3 separate regions of the Homo sapiens genome follow, and all the other regions are linked to region 2. Evidence: promoter capture Hi-C in human tissues and cell types (Jung and others, 2019). All regions are on one chromosome and are shown on one strand. Each heading gives the region's core, a stretch centred on a gene start or on the middle of the fragment in contact. The rest is flanking DNA. Distances are from core to core; before and after follow the strand shown.

Region 1 (4,814 bases), core at 1,912-4,411, 320 kb before region 2:
GTCTCCACCAGCTGAGCATGAGCCTGTGGGGTCCACCCTGGCCTTATGCTCTATGTTGCCTGATTGCAACGTCAATGTCTTCAAAATTCCCTCTCATGGGAGCACCACCTGCCTGTCTTGCTGTTTATATGTGACTGTGTTTCAAACTCCATCCTGTGTTGATATTTTTCTAATTTAAAATGTTTCACTTTGAAGGTTTATTTTGGAGGTAGAAAAAGCAATTGTGCACTGAATATAATTAAGCAATGGCATATTGATTTACCCACCACTATAAATATGCTTCAATTCTCACTTACCATGTTAGCTCCTAATGAGTTTATCCTTAAATAGGTATTTATTGACATCTTGATAGCAACTATATCAAGGTGCCCAGAGACCCATCCAAATATGTGCCAAACTGAGCTTAAGTTATTCATAATGCAGCTATCACCTGGGTGCTGTGTTGCTTGCTATCTTTATGAAACAAATAGGAAAAGGATTGGAATTCAAGGAAAGAACCAGGTTCTGTTTTCCATATATCATAAATGAAACAGTACTTCTAACAAAACCAGGTCTATTCTGACAGTTAACACTCATGTCCCACAAGCTGTGTGTCATTTAATAAATAAACTGCTGTTCTTTGTAATGAAGCCAAAATAATGGTGAGAAGCACAGTTATAGCCCCAGAAATAAGGCAAGGAAATGTTAATTACAAAGCAGTTTACATGGTAACAGCTTGATAAATGATGCTGAGAAAAATGACCTTCTTGCTCATTCTCCTTTGTCTCTGCTAAAGAAGAGAGACTTAGAGATTTGAAATGGCAACCTGACGTCTCATTTTTGGTGTCAGGTTGCCCTTTATAAGTTTCTCCTTATAGACCATCGTGTTGGTGGTGGGAACAACACAGTAGCTGGAGACAAGAAAAGAGGACACCTAGAGGAAGAGCTATTCCGAGTCCCTTCCCGCCTGCTTCTTCCCCATGCCACCCTCTCCCAGGGATGGCAAGGTCAGGACTCCTCCATTCCTGGGGTGCTTTAATACTTAGAGGACTGAGTCAATAAGGGGCGTGGCAGTCCTACATGGACAAAGTGTGGCATGTCAGCTCTAGGACTGGGGCGTGGTCACTGGGGTGTCCCAAGGTTATCATTCCCTGTGCTGAAGCTTCCATGGAACAAGGAGGCTCTCAAGAATGCTCTGCTCTTCTTACTGGAAGCTCTGAGGGGGTGTCGGCTGCCATTTGCCCTCCTTTGGAGTTTGTATTTCCAGATGTCTGAGCTACTTGCTGCATGGCAGCCCACATCCACGTTTCTCCTCTGAGGCCACAGGTTTTAGATGAGACAATTCTGTCTGTCCCAGACTCCAGGACTGGAAGGTGGTACCTAGAGGAAGCCAGTCAGCACTTTCCAACCCTGGCATCAGTGATTGGCTCAGAGGTGGACATGTGACAAGAACAGGCTCATCAGGACCAATGAGATTCAATTCCTGAGCCTGTTTTATTAACTGGGCAGAAGACTGCCTCTCCAATGGATATATGGCCTGAGGTTTGAGCAGCCATCTTTCAATATCTTTTTAAAATTCCTAATATTGATAACTTCTACTTCTGTTTTGTTCTAATCAGTATGGCAAATGTACTGACTATTTCAAAGAACAAGCTTTTGGTTTCATTGATTTTCTCTATCATATTTCTTTTCTCCATTTCATTGATTTCTGCTGTTCATGCTATGATTTCTTTTTTTCTGCTCACTTTGGGTTTAATTGGCTCTTACTTCTCTAGTTTCTTAAAGTGTAAGCTTAAATCATTCATAAGAGAACTTTCTTCTTTCCTAATATGGGCATTTAATGCTATAGATTTCCCCTCTAAGCACGATTTTAGCTGTATTGTACAAATGTTGATATGGATTTCATTTTCATTCATTTCAAAGTATTCTCTAATTTTTCTCATGACTGCCTCTTTGATCCATGGATTATTTAGAAGTGTATTATTTAATTTCCATGGCTTAGTTGGTTTTCCAGTTATAGGTCTATTTTTGATTTCTAGTTTGCTTCTGCTAAGCTCTGTGACTCATACAGGGGAGAAGGTCCCAGGTGTGCCTTATGCCCTTATCTCTGAGGCCACTGTTCCTTTCCACCAGGTGCACCATGAGGGTGGTTTTCTCCATCTCTGGGTCTCTTCTGATCTTTCTGGTGAGCATGCAGTGAGGCGTGTGGAGAAGAGCCTGCTAGTGGGTGTGAATTCCTCTTGTGTCTGCCATGCTTAGGGCTTCTCTGCACCCACTCTGGCCATCCCTTGGCCTTTAGCACTTTGTCAAACACTTTAGCTTAATCCTTTTTACTTGGCTTGTTTGGCGTCCGTTTGCTTCTGCCCGAGGTAAGCAAGGATTTACATCCTGTCTCAGGAGCTCTTTTCCTTTGATTTTGTTTTGTTTTTTAACTGAGGTAAAATTCACATAACATAAAATTAACCATTTTAAAGTGTACAAGCCGGGCGCGGTGGCTCACGCCTGTAATCCCAGCACTTTGGGAGGCTGATGTGGGGGATCACCTGAGGTTAGGAGTTCGAGACCAGCCTAGCCAACATGATGTAGAAACCCCATCTCTACTAAAAATACAAAAATTCTCCCAGTGTGGGGACTGGTGCCTGTAATCCCAGCTGCTCAGGAGGCAGAGGTAGGAGAATTGCTTGAACCTGAGAGGTGGAGGGTGCAGTGAGCCGAGATTGTGCTATTGCACTCCAGCCTGGGCAATAGCAAGACTCCATCTCAGAAAAGAAGAAAAGAAAAGAAAAGAAATAAAGTGTGCAATTCAGTGGCATCTAGTACCTTCACAGTGAGTGCAGCCATGACCTCTATCTAGTTGCAAACATTTTCATCATCCCCCAAGGAGACCCTGTACTCAGCAAGCAGGCACTCTCCACTCCCCTTTACCCAGCCTCTGGCAAACAGTAATCTGCTTTCTGTTCCTAGGGATTTCTCGATTCTGAGTATTTCATATAAATAGAATTATGGAATATGTGACCTTAGTGTCTGGATTATTCCTCAGAGTTTGGGTTAGTTTGGTGGTTCTGCAACCTCAGCTTTCTGATAGGGTTGAAAAAAGTGGTGCTTCTTGCAGATGACCTGGCATGTTGTTACTGCTGTTGTTAGAATGCCCTTTCCATCTTTCTGCATCCTAAGCAGAAGCTGGAAGCCCAACAAATTCCCTCTTGCAATTTTCCCCAGATCCACATCTTCTTCCTGAGTTGCCAGATTTGCTATTGTTATGTAAAGCAATTTCTTAATTAAGTCTTCAGCTCTTTGGTGTTTTGTTGTTGTGAGGGAGAAGTTATATGCTCTTATATAGAGGATATTTCTCTATTTTTGCAAAATCACAGTCAAAGAAGTGTCTGATAGGTTGTCCTACATACCTGAAGGTGTATAAAGATCAATGTAATGGATTCCACATAGATTTTAGTGTCCAAATATGTTTCTTTTCAGAAACCATGTTGGCTTTGCCTTATCACATAATGAGAAATGTAAAACTCATCATATTTTTCTATTTCCTTGGTTGTCAAGATGCTAAATTAACTTTCAATTGGATTAACTGATTGTATATTTCTGGAATATTTATATCTCTTTACCTTCTAAAAAATTTCTGATTTTTAATTTTTATTTTTTGAAAACATAGTTATGAAACAAAATGTGTGTAGTATGATATCAAATATTTGCATTTAAATATCTATATAGGTAAATTACAAAAAAAATTTTAATGAAATTATATAAAGTTGTCATGGACCTAATTCTGTATCAATACATGAAAAACTAACTCTTTTGTAAATTTCCTCAAGAAATCTGTGATAGATTACTCTCTCTCTCTCTCCATATATATATATATATATATATATATATATATATACATACACACAGTAAAATAGATATGCATGTCCAATACATGCACAGGAGGGCAATTAAAATATCAACTATTTATAAAAACAATCTGTAAGGAAGTATGAAAATGATAGGGAGGAATGCTAAAGGGTTATTTCCTTTATTATTGTTTAAACTTCTGTATTGTTTGAACTAGCAATCACAGATTACTGATATGGACAGGAGACAGGGAAATACTGAGTAGAAGAGGGTGGTTCCCTAGGAAAGGCCTCACTGTCAATTTGTGGCCCTAAATGGGAATAGGCATTTCTGTTTTCACACCCAAAAAGTTGCCTTTTGGCCTGCAATGCCCCCCTGTCCTGTACCCATATAAACCCTGAGCCCCAGGCTCCAAGAGCAGATGAGGAGACAAGAAAACAAGCAGATGAATGGCAGAATGGCATGGCAGAGAAAGAGAGAAGAAAAGGAATGTCTGAACGCTGAGAGGAGTTCAGCTGGGGGCGGTCAGAGAGGAGTTTGGCTGCTGGGTGGCCAAACTCCAGGGGAAGATCACCTTCCCACTCCATCCCCCTCCCAGCTCCCCATTCATCCCACTGAAAGCTACTCAGTAAAACTCTGCATTCATCCTTCAAGTCCACGTGTGAGCTGATTCTTCCAGGACCCTGGACAAGAGCTCAGGATACAGAAAGCTGTCACACTGGTCCTCTGCCCTTGCAGAAAGGCAGAGAGGGCACTGAGCTGGTTAACTCTTAAGTCATCTGTGGGCCACGTAACTAAAAGAGCATTGTAACACTGGGGTTGCAGGCACCCACCCTTAGACACTACCATAGGGCCAGAGCTGAAAGCGCTTGCCCTGGTTCCTGCACCTGCCCGTCTGTGTGATACCCCTCCTGTCAGGGGTTTGAGCATTGGTAGCGACTGAACAGGTGAGCCACACCCCTGTGGCACATTCTGCAAGGGGGACCAGGGAG
Region 2 (4,437 bases), core at 650-3,149:
TGTATGTTTTGCCTTAGCTCCCTCACTAGTATAGTCAAGGAGCTTTTCATGCTTTGAGCCATTTGTGGCATTTCAGGAATTACCTTCATAGCTTTTGTCCATTTTCTACTGGCTTGTCTTTTTCAATGTTTTTATAGGCATTTTTTAAAAAACACAGTGTGGATGTCATTTGGGATAGCAGTACTAATAGTAGCTAAAACTTACTGAAAGCTACTGTGTGCCAGGCAGTCTGCTGAGCACTTTACATGCTGCCTTTCATTTTTACACTCATTTAGGAAACTGAGTCACAGAGAGGCGAGATAACTTGCCAGAGATTCAAGCACACTCCAGACACATCCCTACACCAATCAGACCTCCTAGCCACCCAGAAACTCTCCTCTGCTCGGAGGCTTCTCTGCTTCCTCCACCTGCCCCTTCGCCTCACTGCCTCCTTTCAAAATCTGCGGCATGTATTTTAGGGATACTCGTATCCATTTTCAGGAATTCCATGATCTACACACAGATGACACCAAAATCGGAACAGCAATGTCCACCCTTCTCCCGAGCCCTAGGTCGGTGCCTCTGTCCACCTGTGTCTCCTGAAACTTCAACACAGACTTCAAATGGAGTGGCAGAAAACCAGATTCCTTAGGGAAAGGAAGGTCTCCCAGACGGCAGGAGCGGCAGGCCTTAGGGGCAGCCGCAGGGGCTCGGGAGTCTGAACATACCCGGTTTGAATTCAGACTCTGGCACGCCCCATGCGATCATAACATAGTGCTGCACGTCTCAAGCCACCTATAAAAACGGGGACAATAACAATATCTGCCTCGGGGTTAATGGTGAGGACTGACTGTGTGTGTCTCGCTCAGGACCAGGAGCAACAAATGTTGGCTTCTTCCCCGGCAAAGACCCGCGCTTTCTCCTGGGCTCCGGGTTCCCGGGGTGGGGGTGGGCGCAGTCCCGAGGGCCCCAGGCAGTGGCGCAGTGGTTAGACCCCAGCCTCTGGAGTCGGCCTCGGTTCAGATTCTGGTTCTACCCTTCTCCTCTGTGGCGAACCAACCCTCCGAGCTCTAGTTTACTCGTGTGAAATGGACTAGCCAAAATTGGGATTTTTTTTTTTTTTTAGGATTAGATGTGTCGGTCCATAGACGTTGCTGGCCACATAGTTAAGTGGTGCGTTCACTCACTGGGCATTGATGGAGCGCCTACTACGTGCCAGGCCTGTTTTACGCGCCGGGGGCCCAGAGGCGCCCAGGTCAGACAAAGTGTAAACGATTCCGACCAGAGCCCTTCAATCTGCATTCCGCTTCGCAGGAAACTCTCCTCCTTTTATGATTTTCAGCCGGACTGCCTTCCCTGTTGTTAGTTTGTAACTTTCGCTCCGGCCCCCGCAGCCTCGCGCCTGCCTTCCCTCCACTGTCCTCAGCCAAGGTGTAGTAAAGCGTCTCCGAACGCGGCGCGACCCTCGCCCACGCCCGCTCGCGGGGGGACCGCACCGCCCCAGGGGTCCTCGCTAGGGGTTCCCGGAGAAGGGGTGGGAGATGGGGGTGCGGGGGGGCACAGGAGCGCGGGCCAGCACCCAGACCTGCTCGGTACCGGGGACCCAGACCCGAGGATGCCGGGCGGCCAAGGCCCCGCTACCCTGGCCGGCTCCGGGCGGAGGAAGAAGAGGAGGCGCCCAGACTGGATACCCGCCTGGACCCGGAGCCGCGGCACCACCCCCAGCCCGCCCCACGCTCGCCAGCCTCAGACGGCCGCGCCCCGCCCCGCCCCTCTCCCGAAGCCCCGCCCCGGCGCGGGACCACCCCCTCCGCGGCCTCAGCTCCGGTCCTGGCCCCGCCCCCCGCGCCCCCGCCCCCGCCCCCGCCCCCGCCCCCGCCCAGGCGCGGGACCACCCTCCGCCCGCCGAGGCGGGGGCCCAGCGCGCCCGGCACTCTCGGCGGTCCGGGCCCCTCGCCACTACCGCCGCCGCCGCCGCCGTGAGTCCCGCGGAGCCGCGCGCGCCCCCGGCTGGGCCGAGCCGCTGGCCGACGAGCGGAGCCTCAGGAGCCGGCGGGGACGCCATGCGAGCCAGGTAGGCAGGCGGCGGCGGGGAGCGCCTCGGGCGGCAGGGCCCTGGGGGCCGGCGGGGGCGCGGGGTCGTGCTCGGGGGCTTTGCACTCCCTTGCGGGCGCAGATCGTGCCGCGGGCGCCGATCGTGCCACCGCCGCCTGAGTTCGGGGCTGCGCGGGTGCCTGGGCGTGGGGCGGCTTCGGGGAAGCCTCGCGCGCCCCTCGCCGCTCCCCCGGGCGCTCGGGTCTCCCTGGTGCTGGTGGGCAGGGACCCGGCCCGGGGTTCCGGGCGCCGAGCCGCAGCCCTCCGCGTGCGCTCGGGCCGCCCCCCAACCCCGGCTCTGGCCACTTCCCGGCGGGCGGCCCTGCGGGGTGGCCTCCCTGGGCAACCGGACGCGTCCTCGGGCGCAAATCGGGGGGCGCGCTCGGCTCACGGGGGCCGTGGGGGCCACGGGAGGGCGTGGAGGGGTCGGGGCGCCCCCCTCGAGCGGCGCTGGGGAGGAGGGAAGGACGCGCGGTCTCCGGTTAAACTTGTTGGTGACAATGCATATTTCAACTTCTTCGGAGATCCCTCCTGTGAGGATGAAATTGAAAACTCCGGTTTCTGGCTTGGCGATCGGGTGACCGAGCAGCCGCGAGGTGACAGCGCCGGCGGCCCGCGGGCGGGGACCGGCTGGGATAGAGGCGCGTTGTTCTCTGAGCGATGTTTACCGAGAAGCCCGCTCCGCGGCACGGGCGGGTGTCAGTTGGGACCCCAACCCTGGGTCCCGCGGCTCCTAGCCCGGGGCCTGCGGTGTAGACGGGGGTTGGGGACAGGCCCAGCTGGCCCTGACCGGGTGTCGGGCGCCCAGAGATGCCGCGCGGGAGGAGCCGCGGGAGAGCCGCCGGACTCAGCGAGCAGAGGGTCGTGGAGCCTGATGGATCGATGAGATCTGAAAAAGAACACTGTGCGAGATTGTATTCCTGCTTATTCTTTCCAAGTTAGTAGGCAGATTGGAACTATAGAATTTATCCGTGATAATAATAAAGTTCGCATAACTTTTGTTCTGATTACAGAAACAATGTATGCTCAGGACAGAAAGCTAGAGATAAAGAGAAATATAAACAGCAAACAGGAAACCATCCCCAATCCCACATTTTTTACCAGCCTTGTCACAGCCTGGCAGATTTGAACATTAAGTTAGAACTGGAGCCATTCTTGCCTAAACCAGAGAATCCCTGAATGCAGCCGCCCCTTCTCACCCTTGTGACCGTCTCTGAGCTCCAAAGTTTGGGTTTTTTCCTTGCTCCCTACCCGGGCAGAATCTCTGCTGGCCACGAGTCCCCTTCCCAGTGGGCTGGGGGCTTTCCTTGAGATCCGTGGCCCAGATGAAATGATGGGAGAGGCCTGGATCCTCACCGCCCTCTGTGGTTTTGGTTCCTTGCCTTGTAAAAATGAAGGTAATGATTCTCAATCTGCTTCTCAAGCCACCATAAAAATTAATGGGTGGTTTGCAGAGCGTTTTGACATCCGTGGATGGACAGCGGCTGTACTTTAAGGCGCTGGGGAACATTCTACTGTTCCTCATTGCAGTGGTCATGCAGTGTAATAGGCTGCCTCTCACCTGGCCGTCCTGCCCAGGAAACAGACTCCAGGAATGTCCAGTGGAGCCCTGAGGACAATATTCCTGGTTCCTTGCTCAGTGCCCTCGGGACTCGGCCAAATCCCTCAGAGTGGGAAGCTTGGGAAGAGGCAGCGCTCTCCAATCCCCCTCCTCCACCTCTGCTTTCTGCTTGTAGGCGGATTTCTTAAAGTAAGGGGGCAGTGATATTTAGGCGGGACCCCAGATTGCCCACTGCCTGATGTTTGTGGGTCTGTGGAATGCCCGGGCCGTGCTTATCCAAAAGAACAGTTAGTTCTGGGAGGACGCATAAACTGAACAAACCTGGCTTCCTAGAGATTTGTATGGCTCACTTGTTTACTAAATGAACAATGACCGGCTGCGGAGAAGCCCAGGACACTTCTGTGAGCTTTATTATTATTTTTTTCCTGTTGTCCCAAGACTACATTTTAGTGATCTTATAAAACAATAAATAAGAACCCATGCCATTTGTTAATTCTGGGTACCAAAGGCCCAGGTGGGGAGAGGTACTTCACAGCATGCCTTTTGTCCCCAAGCACCCATGCCACCCCCACAACAACAAAGTAATCAGGGTAGAAGATCCTCTTTCTGTAACCGTCTGTCGTTTGATAGTTTCATTTTTTAAATTGTCCTTTCCACCAGCACGTGGATCTGATCAGGGTCTGTCTAGTTGCAGATCACAGCTCAAGAGGGGGTTTTGGAAAGACCCAGAAAGTGGGCTGAAAAAAATGCTGATAAAGTATCCTTCACCGGGTGCCTTGTCTGTTCATGTATTGTGCTCTTAC
Region 3 (4,155 bases), core at 1,261-3,760, 310 kb before region 2:
AGCCAGATAGCTTTTAAAAACATTCATAAGAATTGGCCAGGCACAGTGGCTCATGCCTGTAATCTCAGCACTTTGGGAGGCTGAGGAGGGCGGATCACCTGAGGTCAAGAGTTTGAGACCAGCCTGGCCAGCGTGGTGAAGCCTCGTCTCTACTAAAAATACAAAAAAAAAAAAAAAAAAAAAAAATTGGCTGGGCGTGGTGGCGTGCACCTTTAGTCCCAGCTACTGGGGGAGGCTGAGGCAGGAGAATTGCTTGAACCCGGGAGGCAGAGGTTGCAGTGAGTCAAGATCGCACCACTGCACTCCAGCCAGGGTGACAGAGGGAGACTCCAGCTCAAATAATAAATAAATAAATAAATATTAAATAAAAATATTAAAAATTCCTAAGAATTGCATAATTCTAAAAAAAGTTTAAAAATCTCATAAAGTACAAAGTCCATATAGCTTGACTAAGAATGTGTTTAAATATCTTTAAAATAAAAAGGAAGTAGAAAATCCAAACAAGTAATCATCCTGGGTAGGAGTTGTTGACATCTGACATTTGAATTAAAAATTAATGAAAATATCGTGACTCCTGGTATAAAGGGCTACATAAGCTTTGAGACCAACTTTGTTACAAGTTTGAGGCTCATGATCCAGTATTTCTAAAAAGGAGCTCTTTTGGCTCAATTAGTATATAAGAAGATCTCTTACACAATTAAAATCTTTGGCCCTAAGATATCTCAGTTAACTTTAATGTATTGAGTTTCCATAATCTTATATATATCAACTCCCAAATATTTTAGAATTATGTAACCTCAGTAAAATAAGATTTTAACTGTCTTTTTTAGCAAATAGAAATCTTTTAACTCCAGAAAGTGTTAGAATTAAATGCAAAATGGTTTAAAAATTAAAACCAAATCTGTGCATAATGGATAACTTAGTATGTTTGTAATATGTAAAAGAATGTGGTCTATTAGTGTGATCACCCTGTTTCTATCTTTTGTACTCTAGATTGATGAATTAGCTTACATTCTTCATTTTAATTTGGAACCTTAACAAACGTATCCATGGACTTAGAACATGTAAAAGAACTTTAGTTTATATGTATATGTGTGTGTGTGTGTGTGTGTGTGTGTAAAATAGAATTATAGGAATTATTTTATACTAGGAAATATTTTTGCTATGACTTTACTTTTAAAGCTACAGTAATAAGACTGACAGCTGATTTCTCAACCAATACGGTGGGAACCAAAAAGCAATGGAATTGGTATACCTAATGTTTTGAAAGAAAACAGCTACTAATGTAGAATTTTGTATGTAGCAAAAATATTCTCCAACAGTGAATCAGAAATAAAAACATCTTTAGATTTAGAAAATCCTGACAGAATTCATGGTCATTTAATATTAAAAAAGGAAATACTAATCGAGGCACTGTGGTGTGCACCTGCAGTCCCAGCTACTCAGAAATTTGAGGGAGGAGGATCACTTGAGCCCAGGAGTTTGAGTCCAGCTTGGGCAACATAGAAAGACCCTGACTCTACCAAAAAAAGAGAAAGGAATACTGAAAGGATTTTTTTGATTCCAGGTAAATGCACAGTAAAACAGGAAGAAATAATGAGCATTAAAAGAGGCAAATGTGTGTGTAAATTTTAACATATCATCAACTGTATCAAATGATAATGTAGCATTGAGACTTAAAATATAAAATCAGAATGCAAAATGTTATCACAAAAGTCAGGTAGGATAGGCAGGGCATGGTGGCTTATGCCTGTAATCCCAGCTCTTTGGGAGGCTGAGGCAGGCAGATCACTTGAGGTCAAGAGTTCGAGACCAAACTGGCCAACATGGTGAAACCCTGTCTCTGCCAAAAATACAAAAATTAGCCAGGTGTGGTGGCACATGCCTGTAATCCCAGCTACTCAGGAAGCTGAGGCAGGAGAATCACCTGAACCTGGGAGGCAAAGGTTGCAATGAGCTGAGATCATGCCACTACACTCTAGCCTTGGTGACAGAGCGAGACTTAGTCTCAAAATATATATATATGTATAAAGGCAGGTAAGATAAACAGCTTTAACTTGTTGTAAGCTCTTTACATTCTCCTGGAAATGATAAAAAAAATTACTGGTATATCTAATAAGTGAAGGATGTGTATGATAATATATAGTAACCACTAAAAGAATAATAGAGAAATGTATAACAAAGAAAAGCCAATAGAAGGAGATAACAAGGGATTGATAAAAATAATTGATTAATCCAAAGAAGGCATAAAGAGAAAAACAGAACAAAGAACAATTTTCTCCTTTGTATAATTTTCAGTAAATTTTATATTTCTACTAATTTTGCCTTCTTTATTCCATTACAATAATCTACTACCTATTGTTTAATCTGAATCATAGCTATGAACACCCATTGTTTCCCACTTTTCCATATTTACTCTTTATAAAAACTTCAGAAAACAGGTACTATTGTGTATATTTTACTAACAGAAACAAGCAGTTGAAGAACTTGCCCAAGAAATCACAAATAACAAAAGGCTTTATCTTATAATATAGCCTCACTCTGCTGTGTCCCCACAGAGGCTGAGATGAAGGGGACAGTGGACAGGAGACATTTCCATGGACAGAGCCCTTCAGGCTGTTCTAACTTGTGATCAATTTTTCACTAGATATTTCACTTCAGTGTATGAAAGGAGTCCCATGCTAGGTTCTAGAAATATCAAAACTATTTAACCTGGCTAGCCACTCTAGCTGGAAGCAGAAGAATGAGGTTCATTTTTTTGTCTTTAAATTTTTTGCTTTGAGATAATTGTAGCTTCATGCACTTCTAAGAAATGATACAGAGGGATTTTGTGTACCCCTTACACAGTTACCCCCAATAGCAACCTATTACAAAACTATAATACAACATCAGCACCAGGATATTGACACAGATACAGTCAAGATGTAGGATATTTCCATCTCAACTGGGACCCCTCACCATGTCCTTCTGTAGTCACTGCTTCCCTACTCCCACTACCTCCCTACTCCCACAGCCTCCCTACTCCCACTGCTGCCTACTCCCACTGCCTCCCTACTCCCACTGCTGCCTACTCCCACTGCCTCCCTACTCCCACTACCTCCCTACTCCCACTGCCTCCCTACTCCCACTGCCTCCCTACTCCCACTGCTGCCTACTCCCACTGTCTCCCTACTCCCACTACCTCCCTACTCCCACTGCCTCCCTACTCCCACTGCTGCCTACTCCCACTGCCTCCCTACTCCCACTGCTGCCTACTCCCACTGCCTCCCTACTCCCACTGCTGTCTACTCCCACTGCCTCCCTACTCCCACTGCTGCCTACTCCCACTGCCTCCCTACTCCCACTGCCTCCCTACTCCCATTGCTGCCTACTCCCACTGCCTCCCTACTCCCACTGCTGCCTACTCCCACTGCCTCCCTACTCCCACTACCTCCCTACTCCCACTGCCTCCCTACTCCCACTGCTGCCTTACTCCCACTGCCTCCCTACTCCCACTGCCTCCCTACTCCCACTGCTGCCTTACTCCCCGACTGCCTCCCTACTCCCACTGCCTCCCTACTCCCACTGCTGCCTTACTCCCACGTGCCTCCCTACTCCCACTGCTGCCTACTCCCGCTGCTGCCTACTCCCGCTGCTGCCTACTCCCACTGCTGCCTACTCCCACTGCCTCCCTACTCCCACTGCTGCCTACTCCCACTGCCTCCCTACTCCCACTGCCTCCCTACTCCCACTGCTGCCTACTCCCACTGCCTCCCTACTCCCACTGCCTCCCTACTCCCACTGCTGCCTACTCCCACTGCCTCCCTACTCCCACTGCCTCCCTACTCCCACTGCTGCCTACTCCCACTGCCTCCCTACTCCCACTGCTGCCTTACTCCCACTGCCTCCCTACTTCCACTGCCTCCCTACTCCCACTGCTGCCTTACTCCCCGTGCCTCCCTACTCCCACTGCCTCCCTACTCCCACTGCTGCCTACTCCCGCTGCTGCCTACTCCCGCTGCTGCCTACTCCCACTGCTGCCTACTCCCACTGCCTCCCTACTCCCACTGCTGCCTACTCCCACTGCCTCCCTACTCCCACTGCCTCCCTACTCCCACTGCTGCCTACTCCCACTGCCTCCCTACTCCCACTGCCTCCCTACTCCCACTGCTGCCT

The links. Contacts are between HindIII fragments. The study calls those that stand out against the background at their distance.
Region 1: a fragment that was not itself captured here is called in contact with the fragment with the promoter of SH3BP4 in region 2 in 2 of the 25 tissues and cell types used here (IMR-90 fibroblasts and mesenchymal stem cells).
Region 3: a fragment that was not itself captured here is called in contact with the fragment with the promoter of SH3BP4 in region 2 in 1 of the 25 tissues and cell types used here (IMR-90 fibroblasts).

Annotation. Positions count from the first base shown.
Region 1 is chr2:234,624,658-234,629,471 of GRCh38, forward strand. The region is part of intron 1 of LOC105373936 (a long non-coding RNA gene); the gene reads right to left. Among named protein-coding and RNA genes, the nearest start is that of LINC01173, 56 kb to the right of the region's middle. The HindIII fragment of the contact is 3,551 bases long and covers 1,387-4,814 here.
Region 2 is chr2:234,950,118-234,954,554 of GRCh38, forward strand. It overlaps SH3BP4 (SH3 domain binding protein 4), which reads left to right and starts at 1,900. Exons shown (of 6, transcript NM_014521.3): 1 at 1,900-2,053. LOC105373938 (a long non-coding RNA gene) reads left to right here. Exons shown (of 7, transcript XR_007088132.1): 6 at 481-1,234; 7 at 1,322-1,682. RefSeq lists an enhancer at 2,353-3,002. The HindIII fragment of the contact is 19,834 bases long and covers 1-4,437 here.
Region 3 is chr2:234,642,405-234,646,559 of GRCh38, forward strand. No RefSeq gene overlaps it. Among named protein-coding and RNA genes, the nearest start is that of LINC01173, 38 kb to the right of the region's middle. The HindIII fragment of the contact is 9,291 bases long and covers 1-4,155 here.